Regions from separate parts of the Homo sapiens genome. Here region 2 is linked to region 1. The links are contacts of gene promoters, found by promoter capture Hi-C in blood cells and fetal thymus (Javierre and others, 2016). All regions are on one chromosome and are shown on one strand. Each heading gives the region's core, a stretch centred on a gene start or on the middle of the fragment in contact. The rest is flanking DNA. Distances are from core to core; before and after follow the strand shown. Region 1 holds the start of MYO10 (myosin X). Region 2 holds the start of BASP1 (brain abundant membrane attached signal protein 1).

What was found. Contacts are between HindIII fragments. The CHiCAGO score rates a contact against its expected background, and 5 or more counts as called.
Region 2: the fragment with the promoter of BASP1 here is called in contact with the fragment with the promoter of MYO10 in region 1 in 1 of 17 cell types (erythroblasts); the score reaches 5.6 in erythroblasts.

What each region holds. Positions count from the first base shown.
Region 1 is chr5:16,932,852-16,939,056 of GRCh38, forward strand. It overlaps MYO10 (myosin X), which reads right to left and starts at 3,437. Exons shown (of 41, transcript NM_012334.3): 1 at 2,937-3,437. The coding sequence starts at 2,957. The HindIII fragment of the contact is 4,395 bases long and covers 1-4,269 here.
Region 2 is chr5:17,213,886-17,220,090 of GRCh38, forward strand. It overlaps BASP1 (brain abundant membrane attached signal protein 1), which reads left to right and starts at 3,746. Exons shown (of 2, transcript NM_006317.5): 1 at 3,746-3,925. It overlaps BASP1-AS1 (BASP1 antisense RNA 1), which reads right to left and starts at 3,537. Exons shown (of 3, transcript NR_027253.1): 1 at 2,192-3,537. RefSeq lists silencers at 3,542-4,021, 4,512-4,831 and an enhancer at 4,866-5,646. The HindIII fragment of the contact is 5,505 bases long and covers 1,157-6,205 here.

The DNA of each region.
Region 1 (6,205 bases), core at 2,187-4,686:
TTCACTGCAGCCTGGACCTCCTGGGCTCACCTCAGCCTCCAGAATGGCTGGAACTACAGGTGCATACCACCACACTCAGCTAAGTTTTGTAGAGATGAGGTTTCACCATGTTGCCCCGGCTGGTCTTGAACTCCTGGGCTCAAGCAGTCCTCCCACCTCAGCCTCCCAAAGTGCTGGGATTACAGGCTTGAGCCACCGCACCCGGCCAAATCCTATTTAAAACAGGGAAGCGCAGACAAGGCTGTGCCTGCAACACAAATAGGAATTAATACCGCCAAACAACTGCTTCACAGGTCTAGCTCAGTGGATCTCAACTGGGAGTGATTTTGCTCCCCTGTCATTCAGCAATGTCTGCAGACCTTTCGGGTTGTCACAACTTGGGGGATAGGGTTAACAATTACTGAGTAGAGTCCAGGGATGCGTTTAACCTCCTACAACACACAGGACGGCCTCCAACAACAAAGAATTACTCAGCAATGGTACCAGGTTTGAGAAACCCTGGTCTAGCTAGAAATAGCAGTTGCGAATCACAAGCAGCTCCCATTTCCTTATTATTTGGCCATTCATACACAAAGCTAAACAGGCAACATCTCATTCAGTAATTTTTCCCCAATTGTTAGCACTGGCTTTAAACTGTTGTCCAACAAGCAACAAGTCATTTACCCCTAAGCCACAATGGGAAAAGTTAGCAAAGACAGAATTCTACTTAGTGATAAGGAGGCCAAACAATTTAGCTGTCCTTGGGGAATATATCACTTCCACACTCGCTGTTTCTATTCTAACAGGACATTAATTACAGCATTTTCTTCACTGGACAATTTAACAAAAGGATGCTCCATTACAAGACATGAGAGAGAGAAAGGGGAGCTGGGATCTATGTTAAGAGTATGTCTACAATTAATACCTCACTATTTAACCTCTCTGACTGGCCCTGCTTCCTTCCCACTCAAAGTGATTAGATTTAAGGGTGGAACTTTCACGGCTGATTAGAAGTTAATATTGTAATACACATACATCACAAGATTAAAAGTATAACCTTAAAATAAGCGAAAAGTTCCCAGAAATACCAAAGTCACCAGCAGCAAAGGAAAAAGGCTCTGGATTCGTGAACAAGCTCTTCAAAGCTGGGCAAGGGACTTACTCATATCTTTGGGTTAAGATTCTGTCTACAAAATGAAGAGGAGAAAGTAGAAGATCACTAATGGCCAACTGCAAAATAATATTGATCACAGAAATAAAATCCAACAACCAGGCCCCTTACACTGAACTAAGGTATCCAGTGCAAGATGAAAAGAGTACTTTGAAAAGTCAAAGTCTCACCGGGTAACAGGAGATCAGGACGCTGTAGCGCGTTATCCTGATGTTCCCCCCACTTGCACTAGGGGGCAGAGTTCTCCCCAAGGGGGAGCCACGGACCCCTGTGGTGCTCAGACAGGCTACAGGAGGAGTGAGATCCGTGCAAACTGAATACAAATTTCTATATTTTCATCAGATTTTCTAAGGGACCCAGAACACAAAAACAACAAAGTTAAGAATCATTGCCCTAGGGGCAGGGCCTCCGTTTTCTTACAGATGCAAGCAATTAAACACCGGAACTCACTGTAGCCCGAGGGTCCTTTACCACTGGACAACGTGCAACTCTTGCAGAAAGTTCTGGTGCCTTTCGACAAGCATGAAAACAAAAGTCTATGGACTAGAAAATGCGAGCGTCTCACAATTATATATATTTCACTTTTTTTAAGAAAAGGAAAAATATGTATTGATGGATAATTCCTTTCTAGTCTTCCTTCCACAATGAATGTGGGTATCACATCTGAAACACCACTTTTAAAAACTAGATATGACTACTAAACAAGAATGCATTTATCACTTTGGCCAGTATGAATAGCTGTCTGAGAATACAGTCAGTGAGCATGCAGAAAGCAGAATGACTTGAAATATTATATCCAATTAAATCAGATAAACCAAGTCGGCTAACACAGAGGCAAGCCCTCATCAATCTGATTTGCTGGAAGACTCCAAAGCGGTTCTGCACTCAGAAAACATTCCCTGGCTTTCAACGAAAATCACATCAGACTCTCTCAAGTCAACTAAGTTTACTTTGAGCCACTTCAAACCTCAAACTTAAACAGAATTTATTAAATAAACACAACCAAGAAAGGAAAGGGAGCCAAGAAACCACAGTAAGTCTCGATCCCAAAGGGGGAAAAAGGGTTCTCAAGTTAAGTTTCAGTGTCCCACCCTCAACGACCCTAAAGAGGGCATCCGTTTCATCTATTAAAATAGCCACTGTTTGCCCTAAACGAATTTTCTTTACATTCGAATTCAAAATCTGCATGGACACTCTACACAAATACATGATCATTTGATCCCAGGGTCTGGAGTTATCCCAAGCCTTAAAAGAGCACTTCTCGGCGAGCAAAGTAACCGATTAAACCCTTGCCTCTCCTTCTCACACTTCATTAAGCCGTCTCCTCTGGAAGTGTTTGAACCCCTGCACAGGAAGCCCGCACGTTTTGCAAAGGAAATACCAGACAAGACCTTTCTTGGAGAAAGGCAGGTCCCCGCTGAACATTTTATTGGGCTTCCTGCACCCGGGCAGTCGAGCGGGCGGATCGCCCCGCCCGCGCCCCGGCGCGCGCCGCCTCACCTGGCGCGGGTGTCCCAGGGCGCCCCGAGAGCCAGCCACCCACGCAAACGGAAACGCACCTTCGCTACCTCCCGGAGCAAAATGCGAGCGCGGGACAGGACGAAACAAAACCTGCCCGGGCTTACTCATCAGAGACTCCGCGGGGGGATGGGGGGTGATTTCAGGAGACTCCCAGAAAGTTGCGCCTTCCAGGGCTTAGGAAAAAGTACCCAGGGCGCGCGGCGTGGTGGGCAGACGCCTCTCTCCCTGGGCTCCGGAGGCCAGGTCGGACTGGGAGCGCACTTACCTCGGTGAAGAAGTTATCCATTGTTCCAGCGCAGTCCCGGACTCGCCGAGTGCCGCTCCGACTCGCGGAAGTCAGCGCCGCCGCGGGTCCGGGGAAACCATGCGTGTCACGGCGCCACTCCCGAGGACGCGCGCCCGCGGGGCTCCCCTGCTGCCATCGCCCGGTCCCTTCTTGTCCTTCTCACCTTTTGTTCGCCCAAACCCAAGTCCCTAACTCGCCCGTCCCGACGGCAGCCTTTGTCTCTTCTTCCTCCAAGTTCCTCACTACTGGGCGCAGCGCTCGCAAGCGGAGAACAGCTGGTGGCACATTCTTCCCCCAGGCGGGGGAAGGCGGCGGGGTGCTGGCGAGCGCGGCCCCCTCCCTCTGCGCTCCGGCCGGGGGCCCTCGGGGCGGGCAGGAGGACAGCGGGCCGCAAAGTGAGCAGGAGCCGCGATCCCCGCGCGAGCGCTTGGAGGTGAGCAGTCCCGCGCCGCGGCTCAGCCAGCTCTCGCCCGCGGGACTACAGCCCAGCGACCTCGCCCCGCCCTCCCGCAGCCGGCCCCGCCCTCCCGCAGCCGGCCCCGCCCTCCCGCTCGCGGCCCCGCCCCCAGGAGCTTGGCCCTCCGCCAACCACACCGTCTGGCCCCGCCCGGGCGGAGCGCCCCGCCCCCTTCCCGACCAGGCCCCGCCCACTCTAAGCCCGAAGCAGCCGCAGGCTCGTTAGCGGACCCGGGAGGGGGCCGCGTGTTTCCCCAGGTCTTCCCACGTAGGCGTGGGGAGGGGATTTAACTCTTCCCTCTGCAGAGAGAGACTAAACAATCACTTAGAGGGGAGGAGAAGGGACTGGGGGCTTCTGTGCCTTTCATGTTTAGCAGACCCGGGAACCGGCTCAACACGGATCTCATTAATGCAGCCCGGTAGACTAGCAATCTCGGGAAGGAAGCGCGGTCAGCGGAGCTGCCGGGGCTGCGGGGCCAGATCAAAGCGGAAGACGGAGGCTAATCAGAATTTCTGGAAGCTGCATTCCCGTGTTGACTTTCTGTCCTGCAGTCGGGTTTGCTTAAGACGTTTGCGTAACAGCGGGGAAATGTAGTTTTGAAACTGGAAGGGGACGTGGCCAATATCACCTTTAAAAATGTAACCCTTTTCTAGACCTCAAGGAAGCAGAGATGGCAGATGGCACTGAGATGGACGAATGATCAAACCCACCTGGCACTGAGTCCCGTTTCCCCTAGGGCAGTTCTTTTAACTTTATGCTGTGCGAGGGTCACCTGGGAACCTTGTTAGAACGCAGGCTGGAACAATCTGCTTTCCAGGTGCCCCTCAGGTGCTACCTGGTCCTGTGCTGAACGAAAGCTTGTAACAAGTAGAGAAATTAAGAGTAAACGTTTGTAGCAATTTAATAATGCCACGACATCCAAGCACATGATCAGTGGACTCTTTGAACCGAGTATAAACCAGTTTGGGTGTTGTCAGACTCACGTGGTGAGTCACACCTGGCGCCGCAGTGTATTGGTACCTGGCCGACTGGGAACAAAAATGGCTGGTTCTTCAGCACAAAAGATTTGAGATGCTCTCTCCAGGGAATTTGCCAACTGCTACTCAACCTTTAAAACTCAGCTCACAAAGTCACACCTTCCAGGGGAAGGAACCCTTCCCAAAGATGCTACTCCACTCACCCCACCCAAGCTCCCCGTAACCACTGGGCTAGATGCCCACTCTAGGATTTATTCCTAAGACTGTTGGGGAAGGACTGTGCTTTAAGATGAGTATCCCCAGGCTGTCTCACAGCATGAATGAATGAATGAAACATCCTTCTGTAATCCTTATGGGGAAAGTCAAGCATGTTTGTAACTTATCCCAGTCCAGTTCTTCACCATTAATATCATTGCTCCCACCTCACTTCCCTTTAGAAAGAGTCAAGGTGTAAATTAGTTAATGATATTGTGCAATGTTGTTCTGTTTCACAGGTTTACACGCTTAAGGCGCTGAGCCATTAAAGCTTGTGTCCAAGGTCGCAAGGAAAGTGAAGATGGAGTCAGGATAAATACCAACAATCCCAGTGCTTAGTCAAATGGGTCCTGCAACCACTGGTGTTCAGATACTGGAGCAGAACAATTACAGTCATTATGGTATTAATCTGCACACAACATCTCTGCCAGAGAAATTACCAGGGAGATTGTTGAAGTGAGTGTGTGGGTGTGACGTGGTTCCCAGCATCAGCCCAGCCACTGATACGTTGGGCAACCTCGCCATGTCATTTCAAAAGTCACTTTCCATATCGGCTCATCAGTTATAACAAATGTACCACACTAATGCAACATGTTAATAATAGGGGCAAGTGAGGGTGAGGGGCTGGGAGGGGTCTATGGACACTCTCTGTACTTTCTGGCCAATTTTTATGTAAGCCTAAAACTGTTTTTTTAAAGTCTACTAATCTTTTAAAGGTGATTTTCCTGCCAATTATGAAGATATCGTTAATAATTGCCCCCAATTTGACTCACGTAAAGAATGGTGAGCCAGATCCAATATATAAAGTTTAGATTTTACTGAATCATTTTATTTCTTCAAAAAGCTTACATCATCAGTTAACAGGGTAAGAAAGTTAAAAAAAAAAACTTACATCAATGTTTTATCAATGTTGATCCCTAGATCACCTTATCAGTTGCTAAAAAGAAAAAAAAACTGACTCCAAATCTCTGTGGCAAATTGATTTCCTAAGAATTTGCATTTTTTATTTCTTTACCTGTGGATTATATTGAAAGAATTTGCATTTTAATAAGCACCCCGATAACCAGTTCAGAGCTTGGGAATCGCCACTTTATCAGAATTCATCAGCTTTTCTATATATCCCCATATTCTCAAAAAGGTGTAAGATAAGCTGTGGCAGCGAAACTCTTACTTGCTGAACAGCAAAATGCATGTTCTAAATAAGATATCTAACCCTCAAGTATCTGGGGTTGAATCAGTTGTTAAAAAGCAGCGTGTTAAATTTATAAGGGCTTTGACAGGATTGGACAGAGACTGGGAAGCATTTTAAATCAATAGATTTCTAAGAATATCTAGTCTTATTACCATTTCTTAAAATTTGAGTGCTTCCTCTGAGAGAGTTGTGCTAACCACTGGACAAAGCAGTTTAGACCAAATCTATTAAACCCTGCCCTCTGAGAAGCGACAGAGGCACAAGAATGGTAATAATAGAAGGATGAGTGTGTTTCCATGAGGCAAAGGTCTGTCTCAACTCTCTGTCCTACCTGTCTTTCAAATAAACCAGGCTAACAGAGTATGAC
Region 2 (6,205 bases), core at 2,496-4,995, 280 kb after region 1:
GAAAACTTACCAGTAGAGCTGAATTTACTTTCAAATTCTCTAAATGGGTTTCTGAGGGTTTGGGTTAATGCAGTGGCCTTGAACAGGAACTATCCAGAAAGATGTCAAGCAAAGGTGGCTAGAGTCACACTCGGGTGACACTACTGTCACCATGCTTCTGCTTCATTCTTGTTCTACATCTTTTATTTGAGATTTTAATCCTCTTTTTACTATTTAAGAGGAAAGGATGGGGAACTGAGAAAGACGCTAGGCCTTGGTGGGTGATGTGGGAGGTGGGGAGAGGGAAGATAAGAGTGAGGTTTTGAGGCTTGATGAGGTCTGTATAATTATCTATTGTAGGTGTCTTAGTTGACACAATAGATATGATTTGAAAAGCTGAAGGCACATGGAAATTTTTGTAAACTGACTAGTAATTTAAATGACAATGAGACCATTATATTGCAAGCAAAGACAAATCTTTTAGAAAAAAATTAGTAATCACGAATAATTTATCTTTTGGATAATGATTTTCATAATGCAGGTTATGCTTCCCTGGAGCAAGTTATGCAGGCAATTAAAAATGACAATGGAATTCAGTTTATAACCGATGAAATCCAGCTTTGTTTGTCAAAAACAAATGCATTCATTCCATTTGGAGAGTAAAACAGTCTTTTTTTCATGAGCATAATGGTGAAAGCTAATTAAATTTATCATAAATTACACCCTTAATATTTGTTCTCAAGATCATTAGTCTATAATGTAAACAGACACATTCACAATAGTTAATGTTAACAGTTTTCTAAAATTCAGAACTTTAAAGGTTTATTCATTTATTCCCTAAGCATCAGTTTAAAAAAATGTTTTAAAGAGCATACACATTAAAAAGTATGATATTAGATGAACAACTAAAAATTAGACTAAAAACATCGCCAAATTGGATTTTATATAGTAATATTGTTACATTGAGAGGTAACATTTTGGCAACCATTTGCTGCAAACCTACAAATTCTGTAAAAGCTTCTAAAGATTAATAGCACTATCAGTCAGTTGCATCATTATCTCATTGAAAATGAATTCTCACCCTCCTTTAAAAAAATTTAAAAAAATGTTTTAAGAGAACAACTAAATCTGATGGAAGACAAAATTAAGGAGACCTGCAGTTCTCCTTGTTGGTGTAAGCTTTTGCCTCCGGTTTCTATGGTAACCCGTGATCTGTATTCCAATCACACCTTTGAAAGGTTTGTTTTCTCCATCATGAAAATTTAGCTGGAAGCACTGAAGGTACTGAACATTAATTTTTATGTTGTCTTTTTTTTTTGGAAAAATTGGAAAAAGAGAATAGAGAAGGAAGATAACACCCACAGGCTTAGACTGCAAATACAATGAGGAAATGTATTTGCTAATTTTTAGATGATTTACATGCCTGGAAGATCACAAGGATAAAAACCCTGAATGCTAAATGAACAAGTAGGCAGCTCCTCTAACAAACTCAGGAAATGTCTTGAGCAGAACATTGCAAATATTCATCTAATTCGATAGGGTAAAAACCTAGAGACTTGCTCATAGAGGTTGAAAGAAAATGTAGCTCAGTGGTTTTCAGCCTGGAGTGATTTTGCCTCCCAGGAGACATTTGGCGATATCTGGGGACATTTTTGGTTGTCACAACTGGTGCTGGTGCTGGTGGTGTGTGTGGAGGGTGGTACTGGCTGCTAGTAGAGGCCAGCAATGAATGCCAGACATCCTACAGTGCATAGGACAGCCTTCCACAACAAAGAAATATCTGGCCCCAAAAGGAGGTGGGAAAACCTGCATCCTCCATTTAGCTTTATAGATGGTGTACTGGTGTGAGGGAAATAAATATTCAAAAGAATAAAATGCTTTAGAAGCAACCTCATTTGTAATTTGCTTCCCTGGTATTTTACTACACTAACTTTTTATTTCACTTTAAATGGCAGAAAGAGAAACAGGAAAAAACAAACAGTTCCCGCTTTTTTCTTACCTTTGGTTTAAATTTGAACATTTCCAGCTGGCATGCATTAATCTAATTTGGTGCTGCCTCCTATGACCTGTAAATGTGTACAGTAGGGTCGTCAAGTGTTTCCACTGCAAAATCGCTAGTGCAGTTGAGTAAATATTGCCACTTTGCTTAATTCAAATATGTACGTTAAAGTTACGATAAGTTAATTTTCCTGTTAAGTGAAAATGCACTTACCTTTACCCAGTTGAATACAGATGTACTTGCCTTTGACGTCTGCCTCCCTAAGTATGGTTACAGTTTGTCACTCCGGTTCTGGAGGGCCACCCTGTCCCTGAATTCACGCCCAGGTCCTGAGGGCAGAACCATCCTGAGGACAACCTGCAGCTCCATCGATTTTTTCTTGGCTGGGACGCAGGCGAGCATGAAAGCGATCCAAACACAGCCAGAGGGCGCCAAAATGCCGCAAATAAAAGTTCCAAAGGCGTCAACTGGCTTTTGCGGGAAGGTAAAATTGGCTTTTGTGTAATCAAAGAGCTACCGTTGTCAACGATGTCACGTTACGTTATTTTTGTATGTCCCTCTTGCCAACAGGTAAGCAAAGTGAACGCATCTTCCTACCCCGGTGGCTATTCTGTGTCCCGGTGCTAAACCAAGTGTCCGCCCCCTTAGGGCACCCGGACAAGCCGCGGTTGGCCCTAGCTTTGACTCGAGCGCTCGCAAGCAGCAGCGTGCGGGCTGCCTCGGCCAACCCCGTCTTCTCAATATTGGTGGCCTCCATTAAAGCACAGACATCAAAAACATCGACGGCCCCTTTCCCCTCTTCTCTTCCCTCCTTCCTCTCCCAAGTTCCGAGAGCATCCTCCGAGGGGCGACGTCTCTCGCCCCACCAGCTGGACCTCGGCGACCGCGCCTCCCCCGAAGCTGCAGCCTTCGGGGCTGAGCCCCGCGGGTGCGGGTGCAGGTGCGGAGCCGCCCAAGGTGCGCAACTCGTTTGCAGCGGCGCAGCCCAGACGCGCCTGCAGCTGGGGCTCACCCCAACCTCGCTGCCAGCCGAGGTAGCGGAATCGTAGTCGACGTCGGGAGCGGGCTGGACTGGGGTCTGAGAAGGGTAGCTGGTGCCAGGGGGTGTCATTCATCACCTCGAGGCAGCTCCCTAAGTCTGAGCGAGAGCCCGAGCACTTCTTATCCAACGGTTCCAAATAAATGAGGGGGAGAGAGAGAGAGAGAGTGAGAGAGAGAGAGAGAGAGAGAGAGTGAGTGAGAGAGTGAGAGAGTGGGAGAAGTCCACGGACAGCCCAGGCGGCGCGGCGGGGGAAGGGGGACGCAGGAATGGAGGAGAGGAGAGGGGAGGCGGAGGGGGGATCTGAATAGAGGGCATTTAGGAAACGTTGGCGGGGCACAGAGTTGGGAGGTGGGGGGAAGGGAGGAACCAGGATGGCGGATAGGAGAGAAATGGGGGTGACTGTGCTGGAGGGGAGGGGAGGTGGGGGCCCAGAGCTGGGGGGAGTCAAGGGGAGGCGGGCGTGTCCAGGCTGGAGGGGAGAGGGGAGGGTCTGCGCCGGAGGAGGGGAGGGGAGCAGAGGGAGTGCAGGGGGTGGGGAGATGGAGCTGGAGGGGGTGGAGGGGAGACGGGCGGGGCGCCGGGCTGGAGGGAGGGGAGAGAGGCGGGCGGGGAGCGCGGGAGGAGGGAGGCTGGGCGGGCGGACGCGCGGGGGGAGGGCACTGGGCAGGAAGGGGAGGGGGAGCGAGCGCGAGAAATGCAGAGGCTGCAGCGGCGGCGGCGGCGGCAGTAGCGGCAGCGGCGACGACGGCGGCGGCAGCGCTCCAACTGGCTCCTCGCTCCGGGCTCCGCCGTCGAGCCGGGAGAGAGCCTCCGCCAGCGGCCAGGCACCAGCCAGACGACGCCAGCGACCCCGGCCTCTCGGCGGCACCGCGCTAACTCAGGGGCTGCATAGGCACCCAGAGCCGGTAAGGAGGCGCGCCCGGTGGCCCCGCGCCGCCGCGGACCCGGGGGCCTCCGTCCCCCACCGCGCCGCGCCCCGCCCCGCAGCCCCCGGGCTCTCCCTTCATGCAGCGGGCAGCAGGGATGTGGGCCCGGATTGGACGGCAAGGGCCTGGGGTCCCTCTGTGAGGGCTCCGTCGCACTTCGGGGATCCCGGGTGATGGGGGGCCCAGAAGTGGGAGGCTTCAGCCGCTCGCATGGTGGAGGGGTGAGGGGGGCGGCGAGGTTGGTAAACGGAGCTGGGGGGAGGGGGCTGTCGGGGAGAGGAGCTGCGGGTGACGGGAGGAATTGCCGAATGCGAAACCCCCTCAGTGCGTTGAGTCCCGGGGAGACGGTTCTGTGGGCTGAAGGGAGCGCTTCCGTCATCGGAGCCCTTACCAGCCTGGGAGAAAGCGCTCGGGGCGAGGGGCGCAGCAGCCAAAGATGGAGGGTGGGGGTGGGGTGGGGCGGGAGTCCGGGGAGAAAGAAGATGGGGAATCTGGCCCGATCAGAAGGAAGTGGGTGGCTTTTTGCTTTGGCAAACGGGTTTTCTCGACCCATGGGACTCCTGGATCTTGGTTCTGGGGCCAAGGAATACGAGGTTCACACGGCGACGTGCACTCAGAAGCACCTCCCGAGCAGATCGGAGCCCCAGCCTCGTCAGTGGCGGAATTGCCTTCCTACGAACCCGTGGGCTGCCTCGGAGCAGTTTGTTTTTTCGAGCCTTTGGTTCCAAGAATGCGCCAGGCGCCTCCGCCCTGGGTCCCGGCCCCGGCCCGGGCCCGGGGGGTGTGGGCTTGAACCTGACAGCGCGCGGCCCTAACTGGGCTCAGCCCCGCTGGGAGCGTAGGGTTGGGGTTGAGCAGCTTTTGCCCAAAGCGCTAAAGCTGAAACCCGGCGCCCGGTTCCTGCTCCCCCCGCCCCCGTCCCCCCTCCATTTCCAGAAAAATAAAAATTGCGGAATCCTGGATCCGATCGCACGCACAATGCGCGGCTGCAAACCGCATTCTTTTCATGAATATTCATCGAACGCTTGGCCAGGCTCCTTATCTGCGTCCCCAGAGACATTTCCGCCTTGAAACGAACTCGGTGGACAGCCCTTGCCCATGTAATTCTCACTCTGCTGAAATTAGCACAGCACACATGGGTGCATTTTTTAGGACCTTGTACAGGTTGACAACACCTCTGTCTCCCCCGCGGCCACTCGCACTGTGGGGCGGGCTAAAACCCAACACTAGCGTCGAAATGGCCTTCTGCTATAGGGTTGTGGACCGACCCCCCACCCCCACCTCCCGGGATTACAGCCCGGGCCAACAGACCCCCAGTATACTGCAGGCAAAATGAATGAATCGGGACTGTAATTACCTATTCCTTTGTCTTGGCCTCGCGCATGCGCCGGAGAGCAGGGTGTGGAGGGCCCGGCAGCCCCATCCCATCTCCATCATCCAGCCACCCACTCCCCTCCCGAGCCGAGGAACAAAGGCGTTTGCCCTAAATGTTGCGGGAAACCCTTGGACACCAATGACAGTTTTTCCCGCCTGTGTGTGTGTTTCTTCTTTTCCAGGCTGTCTCTCATCTTTTGCTTTCTTGCTGATTTCAATTGACCAAAATTAAGATTTGCCTTGATGAGGATGAAGGCAAATTGTGGATTAAATATTTTGTACCCGCACACTGTTATTTTCCTTTCTAGTACTGTTCATTGTTCTTTTTCCTGTAACATATCTTACTGCAGTGAGGGTGGCTTTCTTAATTTGCATCAATTAACCGTTTGACAGATCTTTTTTGGTCATTTGATTAAGGGAAGGTGGCCTCAAAACTGTCAGTGGGCGTTGCCTCCAGTGACACCACCTGGGGAAAATTAAGACATCTTGGCGTTTATTCGAACAAGATGGCCTACAAAAACCGGAGAGAAGAAAACGATTACCTTGTCGGGATCCTAACCCTTTCTGTTTTCTCTGGACTCCGAACTCATTGTTTCATTAAGGATTCCAAAAGGCGAATGGCGTCCAGATGGAAATCTGATGGGGGCAGAAAGAAGGCAGTCGTTGGGGTGAAGCTGGTTGATTAGGTTCGCAATGATTCCTTTTTCCCCATTACCTAACAGAAGCCATGATATACCTTTGATGGCTGATTTTCTTTCAGATGATCTATTTTCCAGGTTATGGCCATTTAGATTTATTTTCAGGTAGTTTGTTTTTACCACACAAAAAGGGACTTATTGTGTATATTAAATAGGAGCCAAATATGATATTTTTTGCAGTGGTAGG